Linked DNA regions of Homo sapiens: region 2 is linked to region 1. The links are contacts of gene promoters, found by promoter capture Hi-C in blood cells and fetal thymus (Javierre and others, 2016). All regions are on one chromosome and are shown on one strand. Each heading gives the region's core, a stretch centred on a gene start or on the middle of the fragment in contact. The rest is flanking DNA. Distances are from core to core; before and after follow the strand shown. Region 1 holds the start of KCNA3 (potassium voltage-gated channel subfamily A member 3). Region 2 overlaps LOC124904296 (a long non-coding RNA gene).

What was found. The method cuts DNA at HindIII sites, captures the fragments that hold promoters and counts their contacts. A CHiCAGO score of 5 or more calls a contact.
Region 2: a contact is called between a fragment that was not itself captured here and the fragment with the promoter of KCNA3 in region 1, in 1 of 17 cell types (megakaryocytes). The highest score is 6.1, in megakaryocytes.

The regions. Positions count from the first base shown.
Region 1 is chr1:110,672,385-110,676,742 of GRCh38, reverse strand. It overlaps KCNA3 (potassium voltage-gated channel subfamily A member 3), which reads left to right and starts at 1,803. Exons shown (of 1, transcript NM_002232.5): 1 at 1,803-4,278. The coding sequence starts at 1,934. The coding sequence ends at 3,661. RefSeq lists silencers at 1,678-1,737, 1,808-1,857, 1,968-2,067. The HindIII fragment of the contact is 4,711 bases long and covers 1-4,358 here.
Region 2 is chr1:110,756,195-110,760,552 of GRCh38, reverse strand. The region is part of intron 1 of LOC124904296 (a long non-coding RNA gene); the gene reads left to right. Among named protein-coding and RNA genes, the nearest start is that of KCNA3, 83 kb to the right of the region's middle. The HindIII fragment of the contact is 684 bases long and covers 1,700-2,383 here.

The DNA of each region.
Region 1 (4,358 bases), core at 554-3,053:
TCACCAGCTCAAAATATATACGCAAAATAATGAGGTGGCTGTCACATTCCAGTGTTCTGGAGTTTTGTAAGAGAAAGAGTTTTACGTGGTTGCCCAGTTTTGCCATTCCACAACATAAGTGACTGCCTGCATTGTCTGGCACTGACCAGGAGGTGAAACGGAAGATGAAGGGACAATAAAAGGACATGGGTGCCTGTTGTGCCCAGGAGAGCCGGAGGTGGAAATCCTATGGAATAAATGAGCAGTGTTTTCTATGGTGAGCTCAGTTTTTCCTCACTCCTCATCCTAGGAATCACAGCAGCATCTTGGGCTCAAAAAGAAGAAATGTTGAAACTCCAGAGCAGATAGCAACGCAAAGAGACACTCCTTGGGGAATTCAATCTGACAAGTATGTACCAAGTCTCCACCATTTACAAGGCACTTTGGTAGTTGCTAGAAATATAAGTTGGCTAGGACCTACTCTGTGCCCTAGAGAACCCCATGGTTGGGAGTGGTGGTGGGAAGTATTGACCACAAATCACTTACTTAAAATTGAATTGTCAGCTAACTTTGGGTGGGTGAGGAGCTGTCTAGACAATAGTTCCTCTTCTGTAAATGATTTGAATGATACAATAAAAAACAGACTTTTTAAAGCCTAGGGTTGAGTTATATTAGATTGCTAAAATTTCTGGAAACAAATTGTGTTCAAAGTAACCACAATAATTTGGAAAAATAAGTTTAAAGAAGATACATGTAAGTTATCTCTGGGCCCAGATCAAGCAAGAGGTACAAGTTGCAGAATGAATGTCCTTCCAGTTTAACAACTAGAGCGCTGCAAATTCCCTACCACAAGGGCAGTGCCAAAATATTAAGTAAAAAGTCTAGGTACAGGTCCTGCTCTCATCCCTTCCACGACAGGCTTGAGTCATAAAGCTGGACTTTCTAACCACACAACTTCGACTTCGTGAATTTCCTTTCCCATTTTTCCTCTTATTTCCCCGCCAACAGGAAACCTGTGTAGTGGATAAAGACCAGGCTGTCACTGCTAATCCCAATCAGAAACTTGGTCCTTGATTCTTCCCAGTGGCCGACATCTCCGCTGCGAAAACGGGTGTGAACTATTCACTAAAGCAGCAGGGCCCGAACGCCTTTAACAATCCATTTCCTTCGGACTCCGTTTGCGAAGCCCATCAGCACCCATTACTCCCTTTGGCTTCGCATCCTAGCAGAAGCTAAATTGTTTAAACCCCCGCTCCTCCCCAGGGTTTGGCGGTCCTCGACCCTCAAGGGAACCTGGGATGCCGGCGCCAGGCTTGCCTCTGGCCCAGGGCGCCCGCCTGGCCTGCACTCCCTCCCTGGACACTGGGCCCGCCTGCCCTCCCCGGGCTGTACCTAGGGGTGTGGAGGCCAGGGGGCCGGCGCCCGCGGGGCCGCGGCGGGAGCTCTCCCGGCCCACGGGCCGAAAACCCTGGCGACTGGGACGCGGCCAGGCGGGCCGGGGGCGAGGGGCGCTGACCAGAAGCGGGCGGAGCCTAGGGGCCCGGGCCGGCAGCCTGACTCCCCGTGGGCCGGCTCTGCTGGGTGGGCATTCCCGCGGGGCGCCGAGGTACAACATGAGGGCTCTTTCGCTGACACCGAGGGGCCTTGAGGGCTGCAAGAAATGCAGGCCCGGCGGCTGCCCCCGAGAGCGGGACGCGCGCCCGCGCGGTGGGCGGGAATCCTAAGGGGACGCGGAGGCGGGCGCGCGCCCCGCAGGGGAGGGGGCGGAGAGCGCGAGAAGGAGGGAGGAGGCGTCCCCGTGCGGGAGCCCGGCTGACCGCGCCAGACCCAGACAGAGCATCGCGGCTTTGGCTGCAACAGGCGGTGGGCTCGGCTCGGGGGCGGAGGCGGCGAAAGGGCGGGGAGCGCGAGGAGGAGCGACCTGGCCTCACCGCTGCCGCCTCTTCCCCGCCGCATGGACGAGCGCCTCAGCCTTCTGCGCTCGCCGCCGCCGCCCTCAGCCCGCCACCGCGCCCACCCTCCTCAGCGCCCAGCGAGCAGCGGCGGTGCCCACACGCTGGTGAACCACGGCTACGCGGAGCCCGCCGCAGGCCGCGAGCTGCCGCCCGACATGACCGTGGTGCCCGGGGACCACCTGCTGGAGCCGGAGGTGGCCGATGGTGGAGGGGCCCCGCCTCAAGGCGGCTGTGGCGGCGGCGGCTGCGACCGCTACGAGCCGCTGCCGCCCTCACTGCCGGCCGCGGGCGAGCAGGACTGCTGCGGGGAGCGCGTGGTCATCAACATCTCCGGGCTGCGCTTCGAGACGCAGCTGAAGACCCTTTGCCAGTTCCCCGAGACGCTGCTGGGCGACCCCAAGCGGCGCATGAGGTACTTCGACCCGCTCCGCAACGAGTACTTCTTCGACCGCAACCGGCCCAGCTTCGACGCCATCCTCTACTACTATCAGTCCGGGGGCCGCATCCGCCGGCCGGTCAACGTGCCCATCGACATTTTCTCCGAGGAGATCCGCTTCTACCAGCTGGGCGAGGAGGCCATGGAGAAGTTCCGCGAGGACGAGGGCTTCCTGCGGGAGGAGGAGCGGCCCTTGCCCCGCCGCGACTTCCAGCGCCAGGTGTGGCTGCTCTTCGAGTACCCCGAGAGCTCCGGGCCGGCCCGGGGCATCGCCATCGTGTCCGTGCTGGTCATCCTCATCTCCATTGTCATCTTCTGCCTGGAGACGCTGCCGGAGTTCCGCGACGAGAAGGACTACCCCGCCTCGACGTCGCAGGACTCATTCGAAGCAGCCGGCAACAGCACGTCGGGGTCCCGCGCAGGAGCCTCCAGCTTCTCCGATCCCTTCTTCGTGGTGGAGACGCTGTGCATCATCTGGTTCTCCTTCGAACTGCTGGTGCGGTTCTTCGCTTGTCCTAGCAAAGCCACCTTCTCGCGAAACATCATGAACCTGATCGACATTGTGGCCATCATTCCTTATTTTATCACTCTGGGTACCGAGCTGGCCGAACGACAGGGCAATGGACAGCAGGCCATGTCTCTGGCCATCCTGAGGGTCATCCGCCTGGTAAGGGTCTTCCGCATCTTCAAGCTGTCGCGCCACTCCAAGGGGCTGCAGATCCTCGGGCAAACGCTGAAGGCGTCCATGCGGGAGCTGGGATTGCTCATCTTCTTCCTCTTTATTGGGGTCATCCTTTTCTCCAGCGCGGTCTACTTTGCCGAGGCAGACGACCCCACTTCAGGTTTCAGCAGCATCCCGGATGCCTTCTGGTGGGCAGTGGTAACCATGACAACAGTGGGTTACGGCGATATGCACCCAGTGACCATAGGGGGCAAGATTGTGGGATCTCTCTGTGCCATCGCCGGTGTCTTGACCATCGCATTGCCAGTTCCCGTGATTGTTTCCAACTTCAATTACTTCTACCACCGGGAGACAGAAGGGGAAGAGCAATCCCAGTACATGCACGTGGGAAGTTGCCAGCACCTCTCCTCTTCAGCCGAGGAGCTCCGAAAAGCAAGGAGTAACTCGACTCTGAGTAAGTCGGAGTATATGGTGATCGAAGAGGGGGGTATGAACCATAGCGCTTTCCCCCAGACCCCTTTCAAAACGGGCAATTCCACTGCCACCTGCACCACGAACAATAATCCCAACTCTTGTGTCAACATCAAAAAGATATTCACCGATGTTTAATATGTGATACAAGTGACATGCTGTGCTCAGTATTGTGTGGAACGTGCCCCCTTGGTCTGCCTATGCCCTTGTTTTATACATTTCCAGACCATTCATCAAGGAAAGGACCTGAAGAAGTGGAAAGCACACTTCATTCTCCCTCTCCCTGCTGCTTCATACTGAAACAGGTGCCTGTTTTGCAAGTGGGCTGCATTCTCTCAGCTCTCCTTTTCCCTCTTACCCTCTCTCTCTTAACATTGTAAACAACAGACTTACGTTAAACTTCATTTCTAGTACACGCCCTATTTAAAAAAGAGCAGTACATCCTGGGAGGAAATGAAACTAAAGAACAGTTAGAGTAACTGTTTAACCTCAGAATTTTAAAGGCAGTTGTTTCTTTCCTAAGCACATCAATTCGTAGTAAATGATGCTTCGGTTTGATGGACCTTTCAACGTTATTTATTGAATATGTATTTCGGTTGCCTACCCTGTAGATATGTGGATGAAGAGTCTAACTAGAATAATGACTTGTAAACCCACCATGAGTTATTTGGTTTTTGACTTAAATTCCTATTTGAATCCCCTTTCCCGGAATTTTAAGTGTCTCTACAACTTTGAATAAAGGGAAATGCCCAAGATGTCCTGATCTGACTAATTAGTTTAATTCTTTCGGGCTTGCTAAGCATTTCTAAAGCATTAGACTAACAGATTCCTGTGA
Region 2 (4,358 bases), core at 792-3,291, 84 kb before region 1:
GCAGGAGGTGGAGCCCACTGCCTCTGCTGAATAATTAGGAGCCTGATTTACATTCTCTGTCAGAGGCAGGGCCCGTATATTTCTCATTGCAGCTGAGGAAGACTGTGTGTGCGTGCATGTTTAAGTGTTTAGTGCTAACCTCTTGCCAGGCACCATGCTAGACACTTTACATTATCTCCTTTATTTTTTGCTGTGATCTTTTTGAGACAGATATGTTATAGAGATGCCTGTGGAAACAGAAGCATTTATTTTCTTCTATATATTATTATTTATTGTATCAGGGATGTTGCCAGTCAATTCTAGTATAGACAGAGAGAATTGCCTTGAAACATTTTTCTGTTCAGGGAAGTTACTTGAGTAGCCTCTCAAGACAAGTAGGTGCTCTGCACCCCGGGAAGGTTATAACAGCACCTGTTTTGTGCTAGACCATGCTTTTCCTTTTTAATTTCTCTGAATCTGTGGGGTTTATAGGTAGAAAGGGACTGTTCACATTTCAACAGGGCGAAGAAGCTCCAGGAAGCTAAGAAATGGAGATCCAATGGTTCCTTTTGAAAGTCATTATTACTAGAATCTCTTTGAATGAATGTTCTCCCAACTTAAATGTCAGCTCTGCAAGAGCAGGGTTCTCTGTATCTAAAAGACTCGGATAGTGGCTCGCACATAGTAAGTGCTCAATAAATATTTGTTGAGTGACCCTTATCCCCCAATTCTTTAGCGCATACACCTGCCCCCAAGTTTTCCAGATTAAATTTTAACTTTTCCTTTCTTATTAATTCTCCACTAATCTTCCTGAAATAACCAAAAGTTTCAGCAGCTTTTAAAGCCTCTTTATATATTCACATCCAATTGAAAATTATAAAAATATGTACTCAAATAAAAGATAATGTCTGTCCTCCTGTTTGTTATAACCAGAGAATGTGCAATCAGATTATCTAATAATACTTATGTCAAGTTGTTTAAATAAATAAGCTAAAAAAAGAGGTGGTAGTTAATAAGAGCACATTTTAAACCGTTTAATGTGGAATTATATACATTATTAGGCAGGTACTACTTCTGATTTTGTAATAATGTTTCTTCACTGGAATCTATGATAAATTCATTGTTTGAGATGACATCTTTGTGAGGCTATCTAAACTTAAGCCTTTGGATTGATTTAGCTAAATTTCATTCAAAGTGTTTTAAAATAAATTTACCATCATTTTGATGTTTTTAGAAATCTTTATAAAATCAACAGATGAAAGAGTTAGAAGAATTTGATTTTAGCCTGCCAATAATCTATTAGTCTATTATTTGAGAGGAAATCTATGTCATTTCAAGTCAATTCAATAAACACACATCGAAAACCAACTCTATGCCAGGCATTAGGATATGAACAAAATACATAAAGATGTGAAACATGGCACCTGCCCTTAAGAAGCTTATAGTCTAGTGGGGAGAAACAAATGACCAAGGAAATGGATATAATGCAGATAAGAAGTGGAATAAGATCTGAGGGGCTGATTTTTTATAGGATAAAGGTAATGTCTGTACACTGTGAAAGGAAGGAAGATAGAGTATGAATTTACAGATATTGGTAGTTTCTGTTTTGAATTATAGAGAGGTTCATTCCATATTAATCTTCTTTATCCACTTAATACCTTTATTACTCTTATATGTACAGTCAGATTTAGGGCAATAATATTTAGGTTTAGAATAAGCTTAAAGATGAAATGCTGACCTTCAGTCTTGTCTAGAATATTTTTCTGAAGAATTGAGATAAACAATGAAGGATGGACAATTAAATGACCAGTAATGCTGGCTCCTTGGTTGAGGCGTATATGAAATTTACTCTCAAATTATTCTACAAGCTATCATAAATATTTTTAAATTGCTATAATAAAAGATCCTAGGTATGTTTCCATCTTTTGGTCACCTTTGAAAAGAGGCCAAGGAAGAACAATCCTCAGATCAGTTATTCCAAAAATCACTGCTATTCTGGAAGGCAACTCCTCTACACTATTGTCAGGCAAAAGATGTCTGAAAACAATATAAAATTCAGGAAGGTGTCTGCATTTTCCCTGACATTATTCCTTTTCAAATATGTTCCAGTGGCACTACACTAAGCATTTTACCTATGTTATCCCAATTAAGCTCCCCACAATCCTATAAAGAAGTCATAAAACCACTGAATGTAAAGCTCATGTGAGCAGAGACTGCAGTCTCTTTCATTACCAGCTGTCTCCCCAGAGCCTAGAACAGAGCCTGGAATTGCACAGATGCTTGTAAATATTTTTGGAATGAATGAAAGGTTGGCTGACTACATGTTAAAGAACTTTCTCAAGGTCACATAGCTAGTAAAGAGTAGAGTCAGGACTCCAACTCAGATCTGTCCGATTGCAAAGCTTCTGCTTCTAACCCCTACGCTCTATTATCTTCCCTGGCTTGAAACTACATTTTCCATCAATTCCAGACAGCTGAAAAATCAGGATGTCCAATATTTCCAGAGGCACCAACTGGAAAACTGCCCTAGTTAGTCTTGACAAGAAACTAGAGTGGGGATTAAGAGAGCAGTCCTTGTTTTAAGGAGACTCAGAGGTGGGACAGTGATGGCTAATTCACCTCTAGGTACCATCTAAGTTGGCATCTTTGAAGATATGTTGTGAGGTTTAAATAATATTCTATATGTAATAGACTTAGCCTGGTACTTAAGACTTAGTAACAATCAATAGTTGCAAGAACAAAGACAGTAACTGTAAATTTTATAGAACATATGATGCTGTTATCCTAAAATGTTGAAAGTAAATGACAGTAGAGCTTTAGAGTGACTTTAGATGGTAAGACTGATGTCCAGCACAGTTGCCTGACTCATGTAGTAATCATTTGAATGGCTTAATGAGCCTCCTATTTGCCTTCCTATTTTAATATAACAGGAGTACTGAGAAATATATTTTTAAATTGTATTCTGAACACTTTACAAATCCCGACTCCTTTAACCCTCATAACAACCTTTGAGGTAGATATCATGATTACCATCCCCACTTTACACATTATTTTACTTAATAGATTTGAATTCAGCCTGTCAGTAATCTGTTAATCTATGATTTGAGAGGAAATGGAGGCACAAAGAGGCTAAGCAATTTGACAAGATCATGTAGCTGGTGAGTGCCAAGGTGGGATTAAACCCAGACAACATGGCTTCAGGTCTATGCTCTTAACCAGTATACTCTAGAAAAGAGCAGTGTAGTCAGTTCTAACTCCTATGGCCTGCTGGCACCCTGAAGCTGGCTGCCTGTATGAACCTACAGTACAGACTATGTAACAAACAGACAACAAAATACAAATTTATAATACTTCAGAAATTGGTAGTTGTCAATGTCTTTATCATAAGAAGAAGGAAGACATAAAATCAGTGATCTAAGTTTACTTCCATCTTAAAAGCTGGAAAAGGAAGAGCAAATTAAATCTAAAGTAAGTAGAAGAAAATAAGTAACAAAAATAAGGACAGAAATCAATTAAATAAAAAATGGACAAACAGATAAAATCAGTGCAAACATTTATTATTAGAAAAGATGAATAAAATTGGTAATCCCCACCTAGACTGCTGTGAAGATTATAAAATGCGATTTAAAATTTTTGATGCTCTTTCCATCAAGAAATGGACTCTATATTTCTTCCTCTTAATTTGGGCTGGCCTCGGTGACTTGCTTGTAACCAGTAAAATTTGGTGAACATGGCAATGTTTTACTTTCAATCTATGTTAGGAAAAGCCAAACAACTTCCAACTGGTTCTCTTGGGATGCTTGCTCTGGAAGAAGACAGCTGCTAAGCTGGAGAGGCCACATGTAAACACTCCATCAACAGCCCCAGCTGAGCTCCCAGCCAACAGCAGGCACCAGCTGCCAGCCATGTAAGGAAGCCATCTTGGGCATCCTGCCTAGTTGAGTCTCACATGACTGGAGCCCCAACTGACAACTGAATTCAATGACATTAAAGGCTCCAAGTGAGAACTGTTCAGCTGAGCTTTTCTCAAATTTCAGCCCCACAAAACCATGAGTAAATTAAATTTGTGGTCTTAAGCTGCTAATGCTAGGGATAATTTGTTAAGCAGCAGTCGTAATCCAGACACTCATCAAGAATAAAAAGAAAATACAAATTTTTGGTATCAGAAATGAAGGAGGGGACAACACTGTAGATACTATACACATTAAAAGGAGAATAAAGCCATATGATGAACAACTTTATGTCAGTATATTTGGCAATTTAGATTAAGTGGACAAATTCCTCAAAAGACACAAATTACCAAAACTGCGACAAGACATAGAAAATCTTAATAGCCATAAATATGTATGATAAAAGAAGAAATTAAGTTTATATTCAAA